2 separate regions of the Homo sapiens genome follow, and region 1 is linked to region 2. Evidence: promoter capture Hi-C in 16 types of primary human blood cells and fetal thymus (Javierre and others, 2016). All regions are on one chromosome and are shown on one strand. Each heading gives the region's core, a stretch centred on a gene start or on the middle of the fragment in contact. The rest is flanking DNA. Distances are from core to core; before and after follow the strand shown.

Evidence for each region. Contacts are between HindIII fragments. The CHiCAGO score rates a contact against its expected background, and 5 or more counts as called.
Region 1: a contact is called between a fragment that was not itself captured here and the fragment with the promoter of SFT2D3 in region 2, in 1 of 17 cell types (total B cells). The highest score is 5.2, in total B cells.

Annotation. Positions count from the first base shown.
Region 1 is chr2:127,588,879-127,591,667 of GRCh38, forward strand. MYO7B (myosin VIIB) reads left to right here. Exons shown (of 48, transcript NM_001393586.1): 16 at 1,214-1,351. Among named protein-coding and RNA genes, the nearest start is that of MYO7B-AS1, 41 kb to the right of the region's middle. The HindIII fragment of the contact is 8,153 bases long and covers 1-2,789 here.
Region 2 is chr2:127,700,047-127,702,838 of GRCh38, forward strand. SFT2D3 (SFT2 domain containing 3) reads left to right here and starts at 1,451. Exons shown (of 1, transcript NM_032740.4): 1 at 1,451-2,792. The coding sequence starts at 1,483. The coding sequence ends at 2,130. WDR33 (WD repeat domain 33) reads right to left here. Exons shown (of 22, transcript NM_018383.5): 22 at 981-2,792. RefSeq lists enhancers at 1-1,172, 167-688, 400-769, 689-1,210 and a silencer at 1,530-2,209. The HindIII fragment of the contact is 7,289 bases long and covers 1-2,792 here.

The DNA.
Region 1 (2,789 bases), core at 2-2,501, 110 kb before region 2:
GGTTGGTTGGATGGATGGATGGATGAGTGGATGGATGGGTGAGTGGATGGACGGGTGAATGGGTGGTTGGGTGGATAGATGGGTGAGTGGGTGGATGGGTAGTGGATGGGTGGATGGATGGGTGAGTGAGTGGATGGGTGGTGGGTGGGTGGATGGATGGGTGGGTGAGTGGATGGGTGGATGGGTATGTAAGTGGATGGGTGAATGGGTGTGTCGATGGTTGGGTGGATGGGTGAGTGGGTGAATGGATAGATGGATGGGTGGGTGGCTGTGTGGATGGGTGAGTGGATGGACGGGTGGGTGGGTGGATGGGTGAATGGATGGGTGGATGGGTGAGTGGGTGGATGGATAGATGGACGGGCAGGTGGCTGTGTGGGTGGGTGAGTGGATGGATGGGTGGGTGGATGGGTGGGTGGGTGGATGGATAGATGGATGGGTGGGTGGCTGTGTGGATGGGTGAGTGGATGGATGGATGGGTGGGTGGAATGGTGAATGAATGGGTGCATGGGTGGGTGCATGTGGCAGCTTATATAAGGGGGTTTGGAGTGGGAATGGGAATCTGGGGGGTCCAGAGTTTAGATAGGAGAAGTGACTTTGTGCTGGGTAGATGGTGGGGGCCACGCCTGGGTAGAGGGGTGGAGAGCATGGCCTTAGTGGGGCCATGGGTGGATGGGTGAGTGGGTGGATGGGTGGTGAGTAGGTGGATGGATGGGTGAGTGGGTGGATGGGTGGTGCGTGGGTGGATGGATGAGTGGGTGCATGGGTGAATGGATGGGTGAATGGGTGGGTGGATGGGTGGGTGGGTGGATGGGTGAGAGGGTGGATGGATAGATGGATGGGCGGGTGGCTATGTGGGTTGGTGAGTGGATGGAAGGATGGATGGGTGGGTGGGTGGGTGAATGGATGGACGCATGGGTGGGTGGGTGGATGGGTGCTGGGTAGGTGGAAGGATGGGTGAGTGGGTGGATGGGTGGTGGGCGGGTGGATGGGTGGGTGGGTGGATGGATAGGTGTGTGAGTGGATGGGTGAAGGGGTGGGTGGATGGGTGAGTGGGTGGATGGATACATGGATGGGTGGGTGGGTGGATTCTTGAATAGGTAGATGCACCACCCCACCTGTGGGGCCTTGGCCGCAACCCTTGCTGGCCTACAGGGTCAGCTGTCCCAGGACATGGCTCCTGAGACCCACTTGTGCTCTGTGCTTCCATTCACAGTCTGCAGACTCAAATAAACGGCCCTCCACCTTAGGAAGCCAGTTCAAACAGTCTCTGGACCAGCTGATGAAAATCCTGACCAACTGCCAGCCTTACTTCATCCGCTGCATCAAACCTAATGAGTACAAGAAGCCGCTGGTAATGACAGGAGGCTGGGGCACAGCAAAGGAGGGAGGAGGAGGAGGCTGATGGCCTCTAGGGTTGTGGTCACTCCCTCTGCCAGGGCCTGGCTAGCGTTAGAGCTGTTACTGCCCCTACCTTACAGATAAGTACACTGGGGTAAGGTGACCAGACTAGGTCATGTGAAGGTCAGTGACCTGCAGAGCTTTGGGTTGCTGAGACCTCAGTTCCCTTAGCTCCGCCATGCATCTTCTGTGCGTTCTTGGCCTGGCTCTTTGCTGCTGTGAGCCTCAGTTTTCCCTTCTGTTAAGTCAGACTTGCTCCTGCCTGCAGGAATGCACTGAGGGTTGGACATGAGGTTTGCAGTACATGTCCCATATGTAAACCACACTCAACAAAGGCAGAAATCAGTAATAGGACTTTAGAGGCTGACACCACTCCTTTCACCAGCCCTGCAGACAGTCAGCTTTACCTGCTGTGAGACGGTGAGGGGGTGAGAGCCCACACTCCCTGCCCACAACGGAGTCCCTGCTCCATTGGGTGGGGAGTCCCACCCAGAGGCCGCATATGCAGGGATTCCCCAAACTAGGAGACATCAGCTGAAACAATATAAAATGGTTTTATCCCCATAAGGGAATAAAAATATTACATGAAATTAAATGCTTTTTGGAAAGAATAAAACTATGTGAAATCGAGTTTGATCTGGGTGCAGTAGCTCACGCTTGTAATCCCAGCACTTTGGGAGGCTGAGGCGGGAGGATTGCTTGAGGCAAGCCTGGGCAACATAGTAAGACCTTATCTCTGCAAAAAAATTTAAAAGTATAAAAATTAGCTAGGTATGGTGGTATGTGCCTGTAGTCTCAGCTACTCAGGAGGCTGAGGGAGGAGGATCACTTGAGCCCAGGAGGTCAAGGCTGCAGTGAACTATGATCACACCACTGCACTTCAGCCTGGGTGACAGAGCAAGACCTGTCTCTAAAAAAATAAAATGAGGCTTGCCTTATGAAATCTAGGTTGCATCTTCCTTGAAGGCAAAATAGGCAGATGTGAGATAACCTATCTTGTTCCTTAACTGCTGGGAGAAGTAGCTGGGCTCCCAGAGACCCTTGGCTCGTTCAGACCCTGCCTACCTTGGGAGCTGGGAGTTGCAGGACAGGCAGGCAGGCCTGAGGCTGAAGCTCGGGGGTTAAGAGTGCCTCTGGCTGGGATATCTCTCATTGGTGGCTGCTCAGGGTTCAAACCCAGGCTCAGCCCCTTAGAAGCAAAACCCTATGCCTCAGCACCTCATCTTTAAGTTGGAGCCAATCACCCCCACCAGGTAGGAATGTTGTAAAGATTCAGTGAGAAACACCAGGCCCATAGGAAATCGTCAGTGAAGCGCAGCTAAACACTTACCCGAGGCTAAGCTCAGTGTGGCCTGGACCCCACCAGCAGTTGGCGCTGTGACCCTGCAGGT
Region 2 (2,792 bases), core at 201-2,700:
TACACACATACACACATAACTGTATACAAATATGTGTGTATATACGTTTATATGTGTCTGTGTGTGTGTGTGTGTATATATATATATATATATTTTTTTTTTATAGTAACTTCCATACTGTTTTCCACAGCGGATATAGCATTTTACATTCCCACCAACGGTGCACAAGGCTTCTAGTTTCTCCACATCCTTGACAGCACTTGTAACTTTCTGGTGTGTTTTTGTTTTTTTGTTTTGATTGTAGCCATCCTAATGGTTTAGCCCATGCTAAGTGATCAGGCTGGTCACTATTATTATCAAGTGAGATAACAAATCAGAATATATTTTGAAAAAGAATTGCATCTGCCAGGATCCAACCAAGAAAACAGAAAGCATTAAAAGGAACTTAATGGGGGAGATTAGTTACACACAGGGGATGGAAAGGCTGAGAAGCCAAACAGCAGGAAGCCGTTAACCTTACATCCACCTAGGGCAGAGGACAAAGGACACAGGGCCACCCAGGGGAAGCCAAGGTGGTGAGGGGAGCTGTGGAGGCAGCTGGAAGAATCTGGAGGAATCTGACCTGTGAGAGGAACCACAAGCAAACACCCTCTAGGAGGCTCTGAGAAACAGCAGGGCACGTGGGTGCGGCCTGGGAACAGATCAGGATTGACCTGCGTGCGAGCCAGCTTGTCACAGTGATGTGACGATGAGTCAGGACACCTGGGCGTGGCGCTGTCCAGAGCACGAGAGTGACACCAAACACATGGGACAGCAGCACCGAGTCTTGGACAAGGGGCGCGAAGGAGTCAAGGATGTTGCCAGGCCTGTGGCCGAAACTGAGAACAGAATAGAGAAGCAGGTTGAGGGTGCTGGGTGTCAACCCTTCCTTTATCAACCCCATGGTAAATGATCAGGATGGTCACTATTACTACAAGTGAGGTAACTAATCAGAACGCAACTTTCCCCAAAAAACCCACCTGAGTTACACAGGTCTGAACTTTTTTAAAAATTAAATTTTTATTTTGAGATCACTGTTTGTGTTCAGTTGTAAGAAACAAGAGAGATTCTGTGTACCCTTTACCCATTCCTCCATGTTGCAAAACTAGCACAATATCACCGCCACGGTAGACGCAGTGAGGCCATAAGACATTTCCGTCAGCAAAAGGGTCACTTCTTGTGCCCCTTTAGAACCACACCCACCCCTGCCTTCCAACTATTAATGCTGGCAGGACTTAGCCAGACCGCAAGGGCGCCTACTCCGAACAAGGAAGAGGGTCAGGCGCTGGGAGGGCGACTGCAAGCGGACAGGCAGCACCTGCGACCACGGTACTTGGGGACACCACAAAAGTCCGCAGAGCAGGCACCGCGGCACTTCCGCGAGCGCCGCAGGCCCTGCCCCTTTCGCCGTCGCCGACCAATTGCCGCCCGAAGACCGAACCGCTTCAGCGGAGGGCCGGAAGTGAGCCGCAGCTTTTCCTTTCTGCCACCGCCTTGTCCAAGATGGCGGACCTCCACCGCCAGCTGCAGGAGTACCTGGCGCAGGGGAAAGCTGGCGGCCCGGCGGCCGCGGAGCCGCTGCTCGCCGCGGAGAAGGCGGAGGAGCCCGGGGACCGGCCGGCGGAGGAGTGGCTGGGCCGCGCGGGCTTGCGCTGGACGTGGGCGCGGAGCCCTGCGGAGTCGGCAGCGGCCGGCCTGACGTGCCTCCCGAGCGTGACGCGCGGGCAGCGGCTGGCGGCGGGCGGCGGGTGCCTGCTGCTGGCTGCACTGTGTTTCGGCCTAGCCGCGCTCTACGCACCGGTGTTGCTGCTGCGCGCGCGCAAGTTCGCGCTGCTCTGGTCACTGGGCTCGGCGCTGGCGTTGGCGGGAAGCGCGCTGCTGCGGGGCGGCGCGGCGTGCGGACGCCTGCTGCGCTGCGAAGAAGCGCCGTCCCGGCCCGCGCTGCTCTACATGGCAGCGCTGGGCGCCACGCTGTTCGCCGCGCTGGGCCTTCGCAGCACGCTGCTCACGGTGCTGGGCGCGGGCGCGCAGGTGGCCGCGCTGCTGGCCGCGCTGGTTGGGCTGCTGCCCTGGGGCGGCGGCACCGCGCTGCGCCTCGCACTGGGTCGCCTGGGCCGCGGCGCCGGCCTCGCCAAGGTGCTGCCCGTGTGAGGACCTCGCGCCCTCGCCGCTGGGGAAGTACGCGGAGCCAGCGCCGTCGGAGACCGCGCCGGCCGAGCTGAGGACTGCACGCCGCTGTGCGGAAGCCCGTGGCGAAGGCCCTGCCCTAACAGCCTGCGAGTCTAATCCGGGAGCGGCTGCTGCCAGCGGAGGCGACAGCAGCGTTGGGAGCTCCTCGATGTCAGCTTTTTGTGCTGGACTTGGCACACGCTCTGAAAACTGAGATTTTGTCATTGAACTGGTGACAGGATGTGAGACGGTTATTAGAAGTTGCTTTCGAAGTAACTGTGGTCTTAGGTTCGGCTGAGTAAAGAAAAAGGATTTTTCTTCGAGTTAGCTGCTCTTGTGATTTTTCTCAGGCTGTTTTGTCATTTTAAAATCCAGTGGTAGATGTAGCTTAGCGACGGTAGTTTTTTGTTTTGGCTATACTAAGACTTGGAAATTATTCTCTCCAGTGTCAGCGAATCCAGAAGGGTATCAGATTAAACACCGAATTCAGCCACTGGACTTTTAAAAGTACTTAAGATGGTTTATCTCGGGTTTTTTCTTCAGTTAACAAAATCATAAATATGGTGCCTTATAACATGAAAGGAAAATTAGTTGTGTATTTCACGACGAAAGCGACGGACCAAAAGAAATTTCCTGCCCCAAGA